Linked DNA regions of Homo sapiens: regions 2, 3, 4, 5, 6 and 7 are each linked to region 1. The links are contacts of gene promoters, found by promoter capture Hi-C in human tissues and cell types (Jung and others, 2019). All regions are on one chromosome and are shown on one strand. The core of a region is centred on a gene start or on the middle of the fragment in contact, and the rest is flanking DNA. Distances in the headings are between cores, read along the strand shown.

Region 1 (2,533 bases), core at 9-2,508:
CACACTGGACTTTTGTTGGTTGGGCTGGGGGAGGGGAGAGAGGTCACCGCTGGGCCAGGGAGCCCCGGACAGCTTTGGCCGGAGGCTTCGATTCTGTCCCCACCATCTCTTCCCCCAACCGTTCAGGGACCAGAGGCCCAGGATTGCTGGGCCCGGCCTCCCCTTCCCTCCACTCTGCCCCTGCCAGCTCTTTCCAGAGATGAATCGGGAAGGGAGGGCGGGGAGGCCATCCCTCCCCAGCAGTCCCAGGCTGTGTGGCCTGACAAGCCCATCCAACCCTTGTAGCTCACTTTTTCCTTCTGCAGTGGGGCCGACAAGGCACATTCCCGCCAAGCCCAGGCAGGGTAAGACTTCGGGACTCCCACCCTGTCCCAACCAGACCGCCACTCACCGTCTACGCCGAGACCGTGGGCCTGCGGGGGCAGCTCGGGGCGCCCGTCCTCGCGCAGCTCAAAGCGGAAGGCGGCCACGCGGCGGCTGATGTCCTGGTGCGGCGTGGCCTGCAGGAAGAGGGCCCGGCGCTCGCGGGGACCCCAGCGCACGCAGCGGCCCCCTGCCGGGCCCGGGCCCTCGGCCAGCAGCAGCTCCAGGGCGCCCCCTGCGCGCTCCGCGAAGACCTGGGCGCCCGCGAAGGGCCGCACCGGCCGCAGACAGGCGATGCCGGGCCGCGCTCTGGGATCGGGGCCGCCCAGGGTCAGGCGCAGCGCCCCAGCCGGGTACAGCCACTCAACCGCGCCCTCCGCACAGGCCAGGGCCAGCTGCCCCACGCTGCCGGGCTCCTGGGTGAGGCCGCTGGGGACAGGACGGGACGGGGCGCTGAGACGGGGGCGGGTCCCCGCCCGGCGCAGCCCCCGCTCCCTCCCGAGGCCGCCTCGCGGATGGGGAAACCGGCCCAGCGCTCTGCGCGCTCCGAGGGGCGCCTGGGGGGTCCTAGCCGCAGCGCACCCCGTCCTAAGTGCGGGGACAGCCCCCCGGACCGTACCTGCCCCTCCAGCTGCAGCGCTCCTCGGAGTAGCCGGCGCGGGCAGCCGGGGCCAGGAGGCCGCAGCACAGCGCGCAGAGCAGCGCCGCGGCCGGGAACCCCATGGCACGGCGGGCGGCGTCCGGGGAGTCGGGGCTCTCACCACCGCTGCCCCGGCGGGGCGCGGGTCCGGGCGGCGGCGGGAGCAGCCGGGGGCGCCGGCCGCCCGGCCCCGGCGAAGCCCCCAAGCCCGCGGCCGCTCCGCCTGCCGCGCAGCCCCAGCGCCGGGGCCGCCTTGGAGCGGGTCGGGAAGGGGGCGGGGCCTGCGGCGTGTCGGCCAGTCGCGGCGCGGCCCGGAACTTTCCGCCAATAGCAGGCGCGGGGCGGAGCGGGGGCGGGGCCGGAGCTCGGGCGCCGCCGGAGGACTATCCCACGGTCCAAGCGCCTCGAGGGTTGGGGGGGGCCTTGGCGCGGAAGGGAGGCTCCTTGCCCGCCCCGCGCTGTGCGTCTCTCCTTCGCCGCGCCCTCACCCTGGCCTCGCCCCCCGCGCTGTCCCGATCGGAGTCCTGGAGCCTCTGATGGAGCCGAGGTTTTGATGTCCACTGGAACCTCGGGGTGGCGGTAGGGAAGGTGGCCCACCTGGTGGTTCCGCCTCGCGGGCGGCCGGGCCTGCTCCTTCCTAACACTGGGACCTGGGCCTGTTGGCCACATCCCTCCCAACCAGGTCCGGTCCTGCTGACCAGAGGCCGGTGGAGCCCCAGAGGAGAGGGGTCATGACTCCAGAGGCGGGGAAGGCCTGGCCTGGGGGCTGCGCCTTGGAGCGGGGCCAGGCCTCGGGTTTTGGTAAGGCCGTCTGCAGGAGGGGGTCCTGCTGAAGAGCGCGCAGCCCGCAGGCTTAGGCCCCTTTCCTCAGACCTAGCGGCACCCCATAGTTGCCGGATGACCGACCCCGGGCCAGACGGGGCTCCTGGAGGGGCGTGAATGGAGCAGCCACGGGCACCCCTGCAGGCCTGCAGCACGTGGAGACACAGGAGCTGGGAGGACACCCCTGGGCCACAGGAGCAGCCCCCACCAAGATGAAACAAGCAGAAACAGGCGATTCGCAAACACACTGTAGCCTCAGGCTGGAGCAGTGTGGGATTCCCAGCATCCGGGACTGCTGAGTTGGCCTGATGGGAGGAAGTGGGCAGTGGCTGGCCAGGTGGACAGGAAGAGAATGGGGGAGAGCAGACAGCCTGGGTCAAGGGCCTGAGGAAGGAGCTCTTGGCAGCCCAGTGAAACCCCAGGGCATGGGTGGTGGGTGGGGACGACAGGTCAGATCACAGAAGGCCTAAGGCACAAGCAAAGGGGTCCCACTACATACTGAACCCCTTACGGACGACAGAAGCTTTAGCCGGGGACTGCAAGGACCAGCATAGACTGTGCAGCCTGAAGATGTGAACATTCCGTCCCCTGCCCCCAAACCTCCTGCCACCCGGCGCTCGAAACTCATGGTGGACAGATGAGTTCACCAGTGGCAGTCGGACAGATGAGGCCAGATGGCTCAGTGGCAGTGGGAGGCTGGATCCCACT
Region 2 (2,533 bases), core at 12-2,511, 990 kb before region 1:
ACTGTTAACTCCTCAGAAGCCAGAGTGGAGTTTCTCAGCCCTGGCTACATCAGCTAACAATCTCGCCAAGCAAGGAACCAAGGGGGCAAAGACATCACCTCCAGAAACTCGAGTGTTCCTTCTGCTGACAGAGGAGCAGCCCGCCTGCGGCCTTGTTCTGTGTTTACATCAACCACCCAATTCACCCGTGTCACAGACCTTCAAAATACGGGATTAGGGACAAGGGAAAGGTCTCCAACATCATCCACAGACGGCTGCAGCCCCCTAAGAACACCAAAAGATTCCTTTTCTAGATGGGTTTAGAATGGCAGCCAACAGAGGTAGCACTTGGGGTCGGGAAACGGTTTTGACTGAACACACGCACGAAAGCAAAGGCAATTGTCATGCAGAGGTGGGTGGGGAGGGGAGAGTGAGGCCTGGCTTTGAAGCTGAGCTCCCCGGGGATGACGCCAGGCACATCGGGTTTGGGGCTGAAGATTCAGGGCTGGGGGCACGGAGGAGGGGGCCAGGGCCCAGGCCTGGGCGGAAAAGGGGGTCCCCGGGAGTCGGGGTGGGGTCCCGGGGCAGGCGGGGGAGTGCTCTAGGGAGGTGTCTCACGGCGGGCAGAGGGGGTGGGGAAGTCCCGGGGCGGGGGATATGGGGTCCAGGCGGGTCTCGGGGCGGGGTCTGGGGGTCCAGGGGTCCCGCGGTCCGGGGTGCCGGAGCGGGGTCTGGGGTCGGGACGGGTGTTGGGTCCGGGGCCCGGGGCTGGCTGGGGGTCCGGGACGGGGATGCGGGCGGGTCCCGCGGCCCACGCACCTCCTCCGCCTGCCTGCGCAGCGCCTTCTCACGCTCGTACTGGGTGAGCAGCTGCTCGTTGTCCTCGCGCAGCAGCTCCAGCTCCACCTCGTGCTCCTGGTTCTCGCTGAGCACCGAGTCTAGGTTCTCCAGCACGTTCACCACCAGCGGCATGAGCTCCTTGACCACCTCCTCGTCGTAGCAGTGGATGAGGCGCTCGAACTCGCGGTAGATGGAGCCCGCCAGGCCCGACACCCGCTCCGACATCACCGAGCCGGAGCAGTAGTCGTCCTGGTACACCACCACGCCGCCGCCCTCGTCCATCTGGATCTCCATCATCGCGGCCACCGCCGCCGCCAGCGCGGCTCGCTATCCGGCCGGCGCGCCCGGCCCTCCCCAGCTGCCTCAGGTTCCGCAGGCCGCAGCCCGTCGCCTCCCGCAGCTGCTGTCGCCTCAGGGCTCCGCCGCCGCCGCTGCCGAGGCTGCGCCCGTCACTCACTCACCGGAAGTCCCGCCCTCCAGCCGGAGGGGGCGGTGCCCGCGCGTCCCGCCGCAGCCGCGCCGCCAGGGGGCGCAGGGGCCGTGACGTCAGAGGAAGCCGGGCTTCGGGCCGGAAGCGCGGGTGAGCCGGGCAGAGGGAGCTCCCGGCCAGGCCGGTGGGATCCGCGGGGCGGCAGTGGTCGCTTCCCCCAGCGCGCTGTAGCTTGATCATGTCCCCGCAACCGTGGGCTTCCGGTGACCTCGATCCCGTCTCCAGGCTCTGCACACTTCGGCGGACTTAGGTGAAGGCTCAGCGCCTGCGCCTCAATCCCGGCCGCCCTGATGAGCCTCCGTTCCCTACAGCACCGCGCCCCGCTCAGTGCCTCCCCTCTCCTGATGCCTTCCCCGCTCAGCTGGCTCCTCCCGGGATTCTGTGAATGCACCCTCAACGCCCATCTCATCCTGAAACCCAGCAGCGTGGCCTCCTTCCTTTCGCCCACTTCTCCCTACTGCACTGACTGCTTCAGATTTTCTTTTTTTTTTTTTTTTTTGAGATGGAGTCTTGCTCTGTCGCCCAGGCTGGAGTGCGGTGGCGCGATCCTGGCTCACTGCAAGCTCCGCCTTCTGGGTTCAAGTGATTCTTCTCCCTCAGCCTCCGGAGTAGCTGGGATTACAGACCAGCTAATTTTGTATTTTTAGTAGAGACGGGGTTTCGCCATGTTGGCCAGGCTGGTCTCAAATTTCTGATCTCAAGTGATCCGCCCGCCTCGACCTCCCAGAGTGCTGGGATGACAGGCGTGAGCCACCGCGCCAGTCCAGATTTTCGGTTACTTTTCAGCTACGTGCAATCTGTTTAACCCATCCACTGGGTTATTAATTGCACCGATTTTTTTTTTTTTGAGACGGTGTTTCGCTCTTGTCGCCCAGGCTGGAGTGTGATGGCGCGATCTCGGCTCACTGCAACCTTCGCCTCCTGGGTCCAAGCGATTCTCCTGCCTCAGCCTCCTGAGTAGCTGGGACTACAGACACGCGCTATTAACGCCCGGCTCATTTTTTTGTATTTTTAGTAGAGACGGGGTTTCACCATGTTGGCCAGGCTGGTCTTGAACTGCTGACCTCAAGTGATCCACCCGCCTCCCTCGGCGTCCCAAAGTGCTGGGATTACAGGCGTGAGCCACTGCACCCTGCCAATGATTCTGTTTTTGTCCTATTTGATTTCTTATATTCTAGCAGTTTTAATAGGCTCTTATACTTCCAACCACATATTTATCTTTAA
Region 3 (2,533 bases), core at 25-2,524, 970 kb before region 1:
ACTTGATAAGCCATAATGAAAATGTGCGTCTAAGAGGTAACTTCCTAGTAGCAGGTGACTAAAGGCTAGATGCTCAGCATAAATGCCCGTGCCTAACATTCCACAGAAAGATGGCTACCCTGTGGGACCAACTGATCATCTCTTCACTCAGCAGACACCAAGCACCCACTTTTGACAAAGTGCTATGCTAAATGGAGGTTGGTGTCATTAAAATCATGGCCCTGGTGCACCAAGAACTTATAATCTAAGAGGAAAGAAGATGCATTCTGCTAACTTGCTGTGTGATCCTATGGAAGTTACTTGGCCTTTCTGTGTCCCACAGTCCTCATCTGTAGAATGGGGATAATAAAAGAACTCCCTCACAGGACTGGAAGAAAGCTCAGTGAGTTACTGTAGCTCATATGTCAAATGCTTACAACAGTGTCTGGGATGGAAATAAACATGTCAACTCTATTTTCTATGCAATGATAAAGAGGTATCTATACATATCATCCAGTGAAAACACAAGGGTGCAAACAATCCATATAGCATGCAGTGTTTTCATGTAAAAGGGGAAGTGTTCTTATTTGCTTTTATCTGAAGAAAAGCAGTTACCTGTGGGGGATGCCTACACGTGTGAAGAAACAGGACTGGGGAAATGCAGGGGCTCCACACTGCTTAACATGGTCTCCTTTTTTTGTTTACAGAGTTTTGATCTTTTGCATTTTCTGTTCTCGAAAAATTACATTTTGTAAATTGATTTATTTAACTTAAAGAGAGTTTATTCATGTGTAATGCTTGAGTATAGCCCACCTGGAAACACCAACTCCAAAGGAATGGAGTCAGTGTTCTGAAGTAGGGACATTAGGGTTTCATTTATATAGGCAGAGACAGAGGAGCTTTTAGCAGGACTACAAACTTTTCTCACACAAGGTTAGTGTACAGTTACAGCAATTTGGTTACAGGAAAAAACCACATATTCAACAGTTAATTCCTAGTGTTAACAATCCACACTGCTCCACAGAAGCAACCGGATGAAGAGCCCACGTGTGCTTGCGTGGAGATGAGGCTCGGCTGGGGGTCTGTGCACCTGCTCGTCTTCAGACCCGCTTGAGGGCCCCACTGCTGCGGCGGGGCCTAAAGCAGGGTGGCTTTCTGGGACACCAGTTCTAGGGGCCCAGAGTGCAGCGACAAGGAGGACTATAACAGAGCACAGCAAGTGGGGGGTCGGGCGGGCGTGTCTACCTTTTGCAGGTGGTAACAGAACACCTGGGGATATGCGGGACTCGCCCTGCAGAGAAATGTGTACATTTTTCACATGACTTCAGGGTGATAAACCTTCTGAACCTCAGCCATGGACCTCCCAGGGACCCACAGTCCCCAAGCTTGACACCCCTGGCCAGGGAGAGCAGCACAGCACGGTGGGGAGAGTGTCCTGTGGCCAGACTGCCTGGGTCAGGGAGTCTCTGCTCAGCTGCTCACTAACTGTGAGACCTTGGACAAGTTATGTCAACCTTCCTTCATATCCATCTTCTTAACTTTAAAAAGGTAACAAACAGTCCAAGTGCACTGGCTCACACCTGTAATCTTAGCACGGTGGGAGGCCAAGGTGGGAGGACTGCTTGAGTCCAGGAGTTCAATACTAGCGTGGGAAACAAGTGAGACCTTGTCTCTACAAAAATATTTTAAAATTAGCCTCTGGTCCCGCTCCTCAGAAGGTTGAGGTGAGAGGACTGCCTGAGCTCAGAAGTTGGAGGCGGTGAGCTGTGATGGTGCCACTGCACTGTAGCCTGGGTGACAGACTAAGATCCTGTCTCAAAAAACCAACAAAACAAAAAAAAGGTAATAAATAATCATACCTACCTAGGGTCACTGGTGAGGCTAAACAAGTTAACTCAGGTGACGTGGTTAGAATAGTCCTGGCCTGCTGAGTAAGCCCTCAGCAATGCTGCAGGGCTGTGTCAACAAGCACGTCAGGACCACGGGGCGGATAAAACTGTGTGTGCAACCCCCAGCCCCCACTGCAATGTTCCTGGCTGTGCTATAACGGCTGACTTTTTTTTTTTTTAATGTGACTCCAGCTTTTTAAAATAGAAGATAAAAGTAACTCAATTTGAAGTTTTTGGCCAAAGACATCACTCATTTTTAAAAAATAGTTAAACTGTGAAACATAACAGAAAAGTCTGTAAGACATTAACTATCACAAATAACTACAAGGCAGACACCAGGTAACCACTGCCAAAGTCATCGAGAACAGTGCCCGTTCCCAGAAACTCCTGTGTTCCTTCACTCTCACCCAAGGTTACCACACTCCTGAATTTTTTGGAAACCACAAACATTTTTACCACGTATACGTGCAATAGGTACTAAACAATGTACCTCTGCTTTTAACCTTCATAACTAGGTAGTCATACCACATATGTCTATTACCATTTTACTTGAAAAATAAATTCAGCTTTGAAGCAAGAAAACATGCTTAAATTCACTAATAATTGAAGATAAACTCGAGAGATGTTTTTTCCTCCTGCTAGATTTTTGATTTCCAAGGGCTCTG
Region 4 (2,533 bases), core at 13-2,512, 760 kb before region 1:
GAAACCCCATCTGTACTAAAAATACAAAAAATTAGCCGGCCATGGTGACGGGCGCCTGTAGTCCCGGCTACTCGGGAGGCTGAGGCATGAACCCGGGAGGCAGTGAGCCGAGATTGGGCCACTGCACTCCAACCTGGGCGACAGAGTGAGACTCCGTCTCAATAATAAAAATATCGACCTTTTAAAAGGAAGAGGATGAGGCACAAAATATAAAGAGTTTACTCTAGAGGCTAACGTGGAAGGATCACTTGAGGTCAGAAGTTTGAGAACAGCCTGGGCAACACACTGTGAGCTCCACAGCAAAAATTAGCCGGGTGTGGTGGTGCAGGCCTGTGGTCCCTGTTACTCCAGAGGCTGAGGCGGGAGGATGGCTTGAGTCCAGGAGGTCAAGGCTGCACTGAGCTGTGACCGCACCACCGCACTCCAGCCTGGGCGACAGAAGGAGACCCTGTCTCAAAATAAATAAATAAATGACCCAGAAGGTGGGGACAGGGTGGGGGCTGATGTAAAGCTGTCAAGAATTCTCTTTGGTTTATGGAAATACCATTGATTAGTGATGGGCTGTGCCCTGGTGCGGGTACAGGGTCCGGGCGGCTATTTGGCTAATTCACAGCTATCTGCGTAGTAGCCGGCAGTTTCCAGAGGCGACCCTCCTGTACTGTCTCTGGGGCCTGATCGTTGAAGAGGACTCGCCTTCTGTTCTTTTCTCATTAGGCGGGAGGACCCTCTGGGGCTGCCTGGAGGAAGCCTCCACTCCGACCCTCGCCCGAGTGCCTACTGCGAGGGCGGATGCATGCTTCGGGACTTCTAATTTCATCCTTCACGTCTTTAGCCGCCGCCTATGGCAAGGAAAGGCCTGCCCTCGCCCCTGCCTCCCTCCTCCCTTCCCCACCGCGGCTCCGTCACGATCGGCGCGGGCGACCGGGCCTGGGGGAGCCCCTCCAGCCGGCTCCTGCCCTCAGGCCCCGGGCGCTTCCCTCGCCCCGACTCCCGGGCCCGAGGTCCCGGGGGCGGCCATTCGCCTCCCAAGCACTCGGCGCTCAGCCCAACGGGGCCGCCTTTGCAGTCGCGTGGGCAGAACGGGGTCCTCAGGGCCGCGGCGATTCTCTAGGGCGGGCGGCGCCACGACCCGCCGGGAGCGCGGCTCCCAGGAGCCCCCGCGCGACCGGGCCTCGGTGGTTGCCGTTGCAGGTCACATGGTCGCCGTCGCTCATCACGTGGCCCCGTCGCGCGTCACGTGGCCGCCGGCGCGGGTCACGAGAACAAACACGGGGGCAGCCGGCGCTTCCCGGCCGGTGTCGCTCCGCGGCGGGCCATGGCCAACGTCTCTAAGAAGGTGTCCTGGTCCGGCCGGGACCGGGACGACGAGGAGGCGGCGCCGCTGCTGCGGAGGACGGCGCGGCCCGGCGGGGGGACGCCGCTGCTGAACGGGGCTGGGCCTGGGGCTGCGCGCCAGGTGAGGCCGGGCAGGGCGCAGGCGGGGAAACTGAGCCCTCGTGCGCCCCGCAGCCCGCGCCCTCGTGAGCCTTCTGGCGGCGCCGCGTGTCTCGGTCCTGGAGGCGACCGAGGCGCGGTGGACTCGGGAACGCGCCCCGGGGCTCCTCGGCGGGGCCGGGCTGGCGGGGGCGCCTGGGGTCTGGAGTCTTCGGAGGCCGCGCCGGGCTCGGTGGCCGGGAGGGCTGCGTGGGCGAGGCGGAGCTCGCCAGACCCCGCGGAATGTGGGGCGCTGAGGGGCGCCGGGGCAGCCGTGGCGCACGTTCATTCCCTCCGGTGTCCCCCAGACTGGCCCTAAAGGGGTGCAAGTGGCTTTCTGTTCAGGTGACTTTTAAAAATTGTCATCCTACACGAGCAACTAATTTTGTTTGCGTTTTTGACCCCCTGGGAGATGGAAACAGTTAAGATTGCAGCCGGGTCACTGTCTTTCAGTGAGAATGACTGAGCGCCTTTATCTGCCATCTTTCTGTGTGGGGATCAGTCCCGACTTTCAGGTGATCTTGGGAGTGACGAGTATTTGTACTCAGTCTCCCTTCGCACCGAGTTGAATTTGCAATGTGCAGGCAAACACAATAAGCAGCAAGTCAGAGGTTGGAATGCGTTCCGCATGTCACCCTGCAGCGTGCGTCTGAGCAGTGTTAAGGTCTGGAGAACCGTTGCGGGTACATTTGTTTCCCTGTCTGTGTATTGTCTTAATATTTTTTTTTTTTTGAGACGGAGTTTCACTGTAGTTGCCCAGGCTGGAGTGCAATGGCGCGATCTCGGCTCACTGCAACCCCCACCTCCCGAGTTTAAGTGACTCTCCTGCCTCAGCCTCCTGAGTAGCTGGAATTACAGGCGTGCGCCACCGCGCCCGGCTAATTTTGTATTTTTAGTAGAGACGGGGTTCCTCCGTGTTGGTCAGGCTGGCCTCGAACTCCCGACCTCACGTGATCCCCCGCACCTCAGCCTCCCAAAGTGCTGGGATTACAGGCGTGAGCCACTGCGCCTGGCCGTATTGTGTTACTTTTGAGTTAATGGACCGTTTTGTTGATGGGTC
Region 5 (2,533 bases), core at 24-2,523, 700 kb before region 1:
TTTTTTTGAGACGGAGTCTCGCTCTGTTGCCCAGGCTGGAGTGCAGTGGCGCGATCTCGGCTCACTGCAAGCTCCGCCTCCTGGGTTCAAGTGATTCTCCTGCCTTAGCCTCCTGAGTAGCTGGGACTACAGGTGCCCACCACCACGCCCGGGTAATTTTTTTTTTTTTTTTTGTATTTTTAGTAGAGACGGGGTTTCACCGTGTTAGCCAGGATGGTCTCGATCTTCTGACCTCGTGATCCGCCCACCTCGGCCTCTCAAAGTGCAGGGATTATAGGCGTGAGCCACCGCGCCCGGCCAATGGGCACATTTTTCATATCACTAAAAATTTCTTTTTTATTTTTTGAGACAGGGTGTTACTCTGTCACCCAGGCTGGAGTGCAGTGGCGCAATCTCGGCTCACTACTAAACCTCCGCCTCCCGGGTTCACGCCATTCTCCTGCCTCAGCCTCCGGAGTAGCAGGAATTACAGGCGCAAGCCACCACACCCCACTAATATTTTTGTATGTTTAGTAGAGACGGGGTTTCACTGTTGGCCAAGCTGTTGTCAAACTCCCGAACTCAGCTGATCCGCCGGCCTCGGCCTCCCAAAGTGCTGGGATTACAGGCGTGAGACACCGCGCCCGGCCTCCTACCACTAAAAATTCTTCGGAAGCACTGTTTCAAATCACGCAGAGCACTTAGAGTTTTCCCTTTTCTCAGCTACTGCGCTGTTGGGGGAAGGGGGACCTCAAGTGTTTGCAAAATAACTGTGATAATTACCTTTGTAGATAAATCTCTGAGTATAAGTTTTTGAGGTCAAGGTTCGAAATGGAACAAATTCCTTTCTACAAAGGCCAGGACCCCTTGGCCCTTCCGCCCGGTGCCTGGCTCCCCCTGACATCAGCCTCTTGGTTCGTTTGTGGAAGAGCAGCTCTATTGAGATACAACTCTTGTGATTAATTCATGTAAAATACACGGTTATGTCGGGTCATGTCACAGCAGGGGCGACCATCGCGGGTCCCACGCGCGGCCCCGGGCAGGACCAGCGTCCCGGGCCGGGGGCTGCAGGGCAGGGCAGGGCAGGGCAGGGCAGGGCAGGGCAGGGCAGGGCAGGGCGGGGCGCGGGGCTGGGGCGGGGTCTGCGGGCCGGGGGCGGGGCTGCGGGGGGCGCGGGGCTGGGGCGGGGCCGGGGTCTGCGGGCTGGGGGCGGGGCCGCGGGGGGCGTGGCCGCGGGGGCGCGCGGGGATATCCGGGGGCGGGGGCGCCGGCGCGGCGCATGCGCGCTGCATTGTTTTGACTGAAAATGCCGTCGGTTTCGAAAGCGGCGGCAGCGGCGCTGAGCGGGTCCCCCCCGCAGACTGAGAAGCCGACCCACTACAGGTCAGCGCCCGTCCGGCCTGCGGCCCCCCGCCCGCGCCCGGTGCAGCTCGGAGCCTCCCGCCGGGGCTCGCGCCGCCTCCGCCGCCCCCGCGCCCCCCGGCCTCCGCGCAGCGCCTGGGCTGGGGGGGCCACGACCCTCTGCTCTCGGCGGCCTCCGCCTGAGGTCGGAGCGCGGCGCCCATGGTCTGGGATGGCACCTGGTTCCGGGGTCCACGCGCCTCTGGGGAGGGAGGAACGCCCCGGGGTTGGGGGTTGCGCCTGGGCTCGGGGACCGGGACCCTCTGCTCCGGCTGCCGACCGTGAGGTCACAGCGGGTCGCCCAGGGTCCGGGGTGGCGCTTGGGCTTGGGGACCAGGGTCAGCGCCTGGGCTACGAGGTCGGGTGAGGGTCGCGTCTGGAGTCGGGATGGGGGTGGGCGCAGCGCCTGGGGCCCGCCGGGAATGTGAGTACGGGTCGACCCTGGGTTGAGGCTCCTGAGGCCGGTGGGTCCCGCCGCCCACGAGTCCGAGTCCCTGGAGGTGCTGCCGGAAGCGAGCCGCGGCGCTGTCTGTGTTTGTAGGTACCTGAAGGAGTTCAGGACGGAGCAGTGCCCCCTGTTTTCACAGCACAAGTGCGCGCAGCACCGGCCGTTCACCTGCTTCCACTGGCACTTCCTCAACCAGCGGCGCCGCAGGCCCCTCCGCAGGCGCGACGGCACCTTCAACTACAGCCCCGACGTGTACTGCTCCAAGTACAACGAAGCCACCGGCGTGTGCCCCGACGGCGACGAGTAAGCGGCCGCGAGGGGGCGCCGCTGCCTGGGCGGAGGTGGGGGGCCTCCACCCGGGGATGCGGCCGGGACCCTCAGCGGACGCCTTAGTGTCCATACCTGGCCCCTGCAGAGGGAGTCGTAATTATACGCTGAAATTTTCTAGTGACCAGGGATGCTGGGGCGGCATTTCCTATTCTCAGGCCAGTTCCCGAGGGATTATGTGTGTTTTAGGGGTAACCCTTGTGTGACTCAAACCAATTTTGCTTCACCTCCCACTTTTTTTTGTTTGTTTTTTGAGACGGAGTTTCACTCTTGTTGCTCTGGCTGGAGTGCAATGGCATGATCTCGGCTCACTGCAGCCTCTACCTCCCAGGTTCAAGTGATTCTCCTGCCTCAGCCTCCGGAGTAGCTGGGATTACA
Region 6 (2,533 bases), core at 13-2,512, 660 kb before region 1:
GCGTCCCCCGCGTCACGGAGCCGGGTGTGACAGCCGCGGGGTGGGCCCGGGCTTCTCAGAGGCCCGGAGCGAGGCGAAGGCGTCGCCTTCTCGGAACCTGCCTCTGCCGGGCGCTCGCCGCTTCCCAGCGCGGGCTCGGGCCGCCTGCGTCCCCTAGCTAGGCGGGGTCGGTGCCCCGAGGGAGGGCAGGGGAGCGGGGCAGGAGAGCGGAGCGGAGCGGGGCAGGAGAGGGCAGGGGAACGGGGCGGGGGAGGGCCGACCCCTGCGTCCTGGCCTGGCCCGCCTGCACTCAGCCCGCGTGGTACGGGAATTTCCCTGGCGTCGGCGGCTCCCCCGCCCTGTCCTGAGTTCCGAGCAGTCTGTAGCTTGTCCTCGCGTGTCCCTGACCCCGGGGGACCGCGGCGCCTTGAATGTGCTGTGTCACGGCAGAGCCGGGCTGTGTCGCGGTGACTCAGCGGGGCCGGTGGTTTCCTAACGCCCGGGGCTGAGGCAGCCTGGCCTGACCCAGCTGTACTCGCTTAGGTGACCAGCCTCACCTAGATTTTGCCTCTGCACAAGGGTCAGCTCTTTCTTTGAGAATGTTTCAGAAGATCTGGGTCTAACCTTGAAACAGTGAGGTGAGGTGGGGGAGAAGCTGCGGGTGAGAAAGTGGGCCAGGACGGTGCAGCAGCCGTCTCCCCCCTTGATTTCTGGGAGTGAGCCCTAGATAGCACCCTAGGGGTGGTGGAGCCTCCAGGACCCTCTCCGGTGCTCTCTTTGGATGAGGGGCACTTGGCTTTGAAGCGGGGCCGGAGTCTCTCGGGGGCACCCACACGCTCCCTGAACGTCCCCTCTCCAGGCAGCTTCCCGGGCTTCAGCACAGGTGACTTGGCTGAGGTAGGTGGTGGCTGACGCCCTCTGAGTTGAGTGCGAGCCGTAGTTTGTCGGGTGAGCATTGAAGGCAGCTTAGCCCCTCCACATGCTGCGCACTCTGCAGCTGGTGGGTGAAGCTTCTGCCGACTTAGCACGGAGCCTGGTGGGATCACCCCACTCCAAGGGGAGAAAAGGCGCCTCCGTTCCTGTCCCCCAACTTCTTTGCGTCTTTGATTTTCATGAGGAGTTTCTGGATCTCTGCCAGGTGTGAGGGGCGGTGAGCTCTGAAGGGGCTGCCATATCCTGATCCTGGGACTTGGGTGCAGAGGGCAGGTCCAGGTTCCCGAGCCTGGCTGACCTGACTATGGGCAAACCGCTTGGCCCTGCCCGTCATCAAGCCCCCGTATGGGAGCATGAGGGGGCTGTGGGCAGGCCTGCGGGTTGGGGGGTCGGTGCCTGTCCTCAGTGAGTCTGTCCAGGGCCCTGACATGGTTCAGGCTGACACCTGCAAGGATGTAGTGGGGGGCATTCCATGCAGGGCTTGGAGGCCGAGCAGCTTTCTGGGGACTGGTGTGGCTGATCTTACTGAATGGAAGGCACAGCCAGGCTGAGCCTGCAGTGGCACAGCAGGTTAGGAGCCCGGCAAAGGACCCATTGGGAAGCGGTGACCGGCACGCGCAAGGGCACAAGCTTCCTCCTTTCTTGCAGGTCAGGATTCAGGATGCAATGAGGCTTTTCTTGGTAGGAAGGTTACTATTGCAATGCATGAAGGCAGGCTGGGCATGGGCCTCAGGGGGTGTGGGTTGAGCGAGCAGCCCATGAGGAAGGGATCCTGCAGTGCCAGCTTCCAGCAGCCCCTGCACACGTGGTGTCTGGGAAGGGCCTGCAGTGGGGCCATGGGAACAAGCAAGGGATCCTTTGCCAGGGAGGAGGAAGGGCTTTGGCCCCTGCTGGACATCTGGGCTCGGGGCTGCAGAGCCACTGTGTTGGGCGGGTCCAGGCCACAGGAGAGGCTGCCAGCCCTCAGGGAGGAGGGTGGGCCTGGGAGGGAAGCTGGTGCCTATGACAAGAGGCAGTTCAGGGCACAGGCGCAGGGCTGGAGGGAAGGGCCCGGGGCAGCGGTGGGCAGAGTGAGTGGTGAGGAGGCCCCAGAAAACAGCTGCAGGGGGAGTGGAGGCAGAGGGGGGGTCTCCTTTCTGAGGGAGGACTCAGGGAGGGAGGGCTGTGCACAGCAGGGGCCAGATCTGTTGATACAGAGTCCTGAGGGGCCTGGGGAGGACGGGCAGGACCAACAGGGGCATCTGCAGGTGGGCCCCCATGTCCTGGGTTGAATTGTGTCCCCTGAAAGTTGCATTTGAGGCTGGGCATGGTGGCTTGCACCTGTAATCCCAGCACTTTGGGAGATGAGGCAAGCAGATCACCTGAGGTGGGGAGTTCATGACCAGCCTGACCAACATAGAGAAAACCTGTCTCTACTAAAAATGCAAAATTAGCTGGGGGTGGTGGAGGGCACCTGTAGTCCCAGCTGCTCAGGAGGCTGAGGCAGGAGAATAGCTTGAACCTGGGAGGCGGAGGTTGCAGTGAGCTGAGATCGCGCCATTGCACTCCAGCCTGGGTGACAGAGCAAGACTCTATCTCGGTTGGGGGGGCTGGGTGTGGCGGGGGAAGATGCACCTGAACC
Region 7 (2,533 bases), core at 1-2,500, 640 kb before region 1:
GAGGACATTCCCAGATAAAAGCTTCAGGAGTTGGTTACATGCAGGCCGGTGTGCCACCCGGGGAAGTGAGCAGACAGCAGCTCAGCGGAGGCAGACGGAGGTCCTCGTGCAGGGTGAATTAATACCAGTTGCCTTTCTAGCTATGGTCTGTAAAGCTACAGGACTTAAACCAGTGGTCCCCAATCTTTTTGGCACCAGGGACTGGTTTCATGGAAGGCAGTTTTTCTACCAGCCGGGGGTGGGGATGGGTGGTTTGGGGATGAAACTGTTCCACCTCAGCTCATCAGGCATTAGATTCTTTTTTTTCTTTTGGAGACAGTCTCACTCTGTCACCCAAGGTGAAATGCAGTGGCGCGATCTCGGCTCACTGCAACCTCCGCCTCCTGGGTTCAAGTGATTCCCCTGCCTCAGCCTCCCGAGTAGCTGGGATCCCACGTGCCCGCCACCACGCCCAGCTAATTTTTGTATCTTCAGCAGAGGCGGGGTTTCACTGTGTTGGCCAGGCTGGTCTGCAACTGTGGACCTGAAGTGATCCGTCCACCTTGGCCTCCCAAGTGCTGGGATTACAGGTGTGAGCCACTATGCCCGGCCTGAAAGACTAACTTCAGATTTAAAGACATAAACAGGTTGAAAGTGAAGGTATGGAAAAGTATTCATATAAACAGGCAAAAGAGAGCTGAAGTGGCTGAAACTATTTTAAGAGACAAAGATGTTATACATTGATAAAAGGGTCAATGTGCCAAGACACCACAATTATCCACGCACAAACAGTGCCACCCACTACATAAAGCTGACATGAGACATCCATACGCCACTTTTTTTTTTTTGAGACGGAGTCTAGCATTGTCGCCAGGCTGGATTGCAGTGGCACGATCTTGGCTCACTACAATCTCCACCACTGGGTTCAACCGATTTTCCCGCCTCAGTCTCCCCAGTAGCTAGGATTACCGGTGCCTGCCATCACGGCTGGCTAATTTTTGTATTTTTGTAGAGACGGGGTTTCTCCATGTTGGCCAGGATGGTCTCAAACTCCTGACCTCAGGTGATCCACCTGCCTCAGCCTCCTAAAGTACTGGGATTACAGGCGTGAGCCCCAGCGCCCAGCCTGATGGATTCAATATTTTTAAGATGACAATACCACCCAGAGTGATCTGCAGATTCAATGCAACCCCATCAAAACCCCAATGACAGTTTTTGCAGAAATAGAAAAACACATCCTAAAGTTCATAGGGAGTCTCAGAGGACCCCAAATCATCGAACAAATCTTAAAGACAGAGTTGAGAGACTCGTACATACTGATTCCAAAAATTACTTCAAAGCTGTTATGATCAAAACAGTGTGATACTGGCATAAAGACTGGCATAGAGGCCGGGCGCAGGGTCTCACGCCTGTAATCCCAGTGCTTTGGGAGGCCGAGGCAGACGGATCACGAAGTCAGGAGATCGAGACCATCCTGGCCAACATGGTGAAACCTGATCTCTAATAAAGTACAAAAAAATTAGCCAGGCGTGATGGCGGATGCCTGCAGTCCCAGCTACTCGGGAGGCTGAGGCAGGAGAATTCCTTGAGCCTGGGAGGTGGAGAGGTTGCCGTGAGCCAAGATCGTGCTACTGCACTCCAGCCTGGGCTACAGAGTTAGACTCTATATGGAAAAAAAAACAAACCCATCAAGGGAGTGAAAAGACAACCCACAGAATGGGAGAAAATAAACACTGGCAAACCACGTATGTAAGAGACTCACATCCAGAACACAGAACTACAGCCCAACAATAAACTCAAGTTAAAAATGGGCAGAGAAGCCGGGAATCCCAGCACTTCGGGAGGCCGAGGCAGGCGGATCATGAGGTCAGGAGTTTGAGACCAGCCTGGCCAACATGGTGAAACCCCGTCTCTACTAAATAAAAATGAGCCAGGTGTGGTGGCTCACGCCTGTAATCCCAGCTACTTGAGAGGCTGAGGCAGGAGAATCGCCTGAGCCTGGGAGGCAGAGCTTGCAGTGAGCCAAGATGGCGCCACTGTACTCCAGTCTGGGCCACAGAGTGAGACTCCATCTCAAAAAAAAAAAAGGACAAACACCATAAGCAACTGAAAAGATCCCACATGACTGATCATTAGGGAAATGCAAATTAAAACAACCCTAAGGTACCGCTTCACACCCACTAGGATGGCTGTTAGCAAAAAACAGTGTTGGTGAAAATGTGGAGAAACTGGACCCCTCGTGCAATGCTGGCTGGAATGGGAAACGGTGCAGCCACTATGCAAACAGTTTGGTGGTTCCTCAAAAAGCTAAACATGGAATTCTAATAAGATCCAGCAAAGCTACTCTCAGAAATTGGAAGCAGAGACTCAAATATTTACACCCAAGTTCACAGCAGCCTATTCCCAGGCAGAGGGTGGAAGCCACTCCAGTGTCCATGGACAGATGACGGGTAAACAACAACGTGGTCTGTCCTTGCAGTGGAACAGTCCTCAGCCATATAAAAAGGAAGCACTGAGAGCCTCCAGCCTGGGGGACCTTGGGGACACTGTGCCA

Evidence for each region. The method cuts DNA at HindIII sites, captures the fragments that hold promoters and counts their contacts. A contact is called where the count stands out against the background at its distance.
Region 2: a contact is called between the fragment with the promoter of MAPK8IP3 here and the fragment with the promoter of METRN in region 1, in 1 of the 25 tissues and cell types used here (lymphoblastoid cells).
Region 3: a fragment that was not itself captured here is called in contact with the fragment with the promoter of METRN in region 1 in 1 of the 25 tissues and cell types used here (lymphoblastoid cells).
Region 4: a contact is called between the fragment with the promoter of CLCN7 here and the fragment with the promoter of METRN in region 1, in 4 of the 25 tissues and cell types used here (dorsolateral prefrontal cortex, hippocampus, lymphoblastoid cells and 1 more).
Region 5: a contact is called between the fragment with the promoter of UNKL here and the fragment with the promoter of METRN in region 1, in 1 of the 25 tissues and cell types used here (dorsolateral prefrontal cortex).
Region 6: a fragment that was not itself captured here is called in contact with the fragment with the promoter of METRN in region 1 in 4 of the 25 tissues and cell types used here (dorsolateral prefrontal cortex, heart left ventricle, lymphoblastoid cells and 1 more).
Region 7: a fragment that was not itself captured here is called in contact with the fragment with the promoter of METRN in region 1 in 2 of the 25 tissues and cell types used here (dorsolateral prefrontal cortex and lymphoblastoid cells).

The regions. Positions count from the first base shown.
Region 1 is chr16:713,843-716,375 of GRCh38, reverse strand. It overlaps METRN (meteorin, glial cell differentiation regulator), which reads right to left and starts at 1,258. Exons shown (of 4, transcript NM_024042.4): 1 at 983-1,258; 2 at 392-792. The coding sequence starts at 1,086. RefSeq lists enhancers at 1-447, 448-1,045, 1,644-2,242 and silencers at 500-559, 660-1,089, 1,190-1,499. The HindIII fragment of the contact is 3,141 bases long and covers 506-2,533 here.
Region 2 is chr16:1,704,923-1,707,455 of GRCh38, reverse strand. MAPK8IP3 (mitogen-activated protein kinase 8 interacting protein 3) reads right to left here and starts at 1,261. Exons shown (of 32, transcript NM_001318852.2): 1 at 799-1,261. The coding sequence starts at 1,116. RefSeq lists silencers at 718-767, 788-897, 1,168-1,507, 2,414-2,533 and an enhancer at 1,066-1,930. The HindIII fragment of the contact is 16,634 bases long and covers 1-2,533 here.
Region 3 is chr16:1,688,746-1,691,278 of GRCh38, reverse strand. The region is part of intron 2 of JPT2 (Jupiter microtubule associated homolog 2); the gene reads right to left. Among named protein-coding and RNA genes, the nearest start is that of JPT2, 12 kb to the right of the region's middle. RefSeq lists an enhancer at 761-1,457. The HindIII fragment of the contact is 4,702 bases long and covers 1-2,533 here.
Region 4 is chr16:1,473,757-1,476,289 of GRCh38, reverse strand. It overlaps CLCN7 (chloride voltage-gated channel 7), which reads left to right and starts at 1,262. Exons shown (of 25, transcript NM_001287.6): 1 at 1,262-1,456. The coding sequence starts at 1,316. RefSeq lists silencers at 840-1,189, 1,310-1,519 and an enhancer at 759-1,302. The HindIII fragment of the contact is 17,994 bases long and covers 1-2,533 here.
Region 5 is chr16:1,413,444-1,415,976 of GRCh38, reverse strand. UNKL (unk like zinc finger) reads left to right here and starts at 1,273. Exons shown (of 15, transcript NM_001372107.1): 1 at 1,273-1,362; 2 at 1,922-2,131. The coding sequence starts at 1,286. RefSeq lists enhancers at 74-647, 648-1,222, 1,223-1,797, 1,798-2,372 and silencers at 869-938, 989-1,108, 1,649-1,698, 2,129-2,278. The HindIII fragment of the contact is 21,408 bases long and covers 1-2,533 here.
Region 6 is chr16:1,376,998-1,379,530 of GRCh38, reverse strand. All of the region lies in intron 10 of UNKL (unk like zinc finger), which reads left to right. Among named protein-coding and RNA genes, the nearest start is that of GNPTG, 26 kb to the right of the region's middle. RefSeq lists silencers at 1-8, 49-98, 169-238. The HindIII fragment of the contact is 4,164 bases long and covers 1-2,533 here.
Region 7 is chr16:1,358,401-1,360,933 of GRCh38, reverse strand. All of the region lies in intron 3 of GNPTG (N-acetylglucosamine-1-phosphate transferase subunit gamma), which reads right to left. Among named protein-coding and RNA genes, the nearest start is that of GNPTG, 7.7 kb to the right of the region's middle. The HindIII fragment of the contact is 7,317 bases long and covers 1-2,533 here.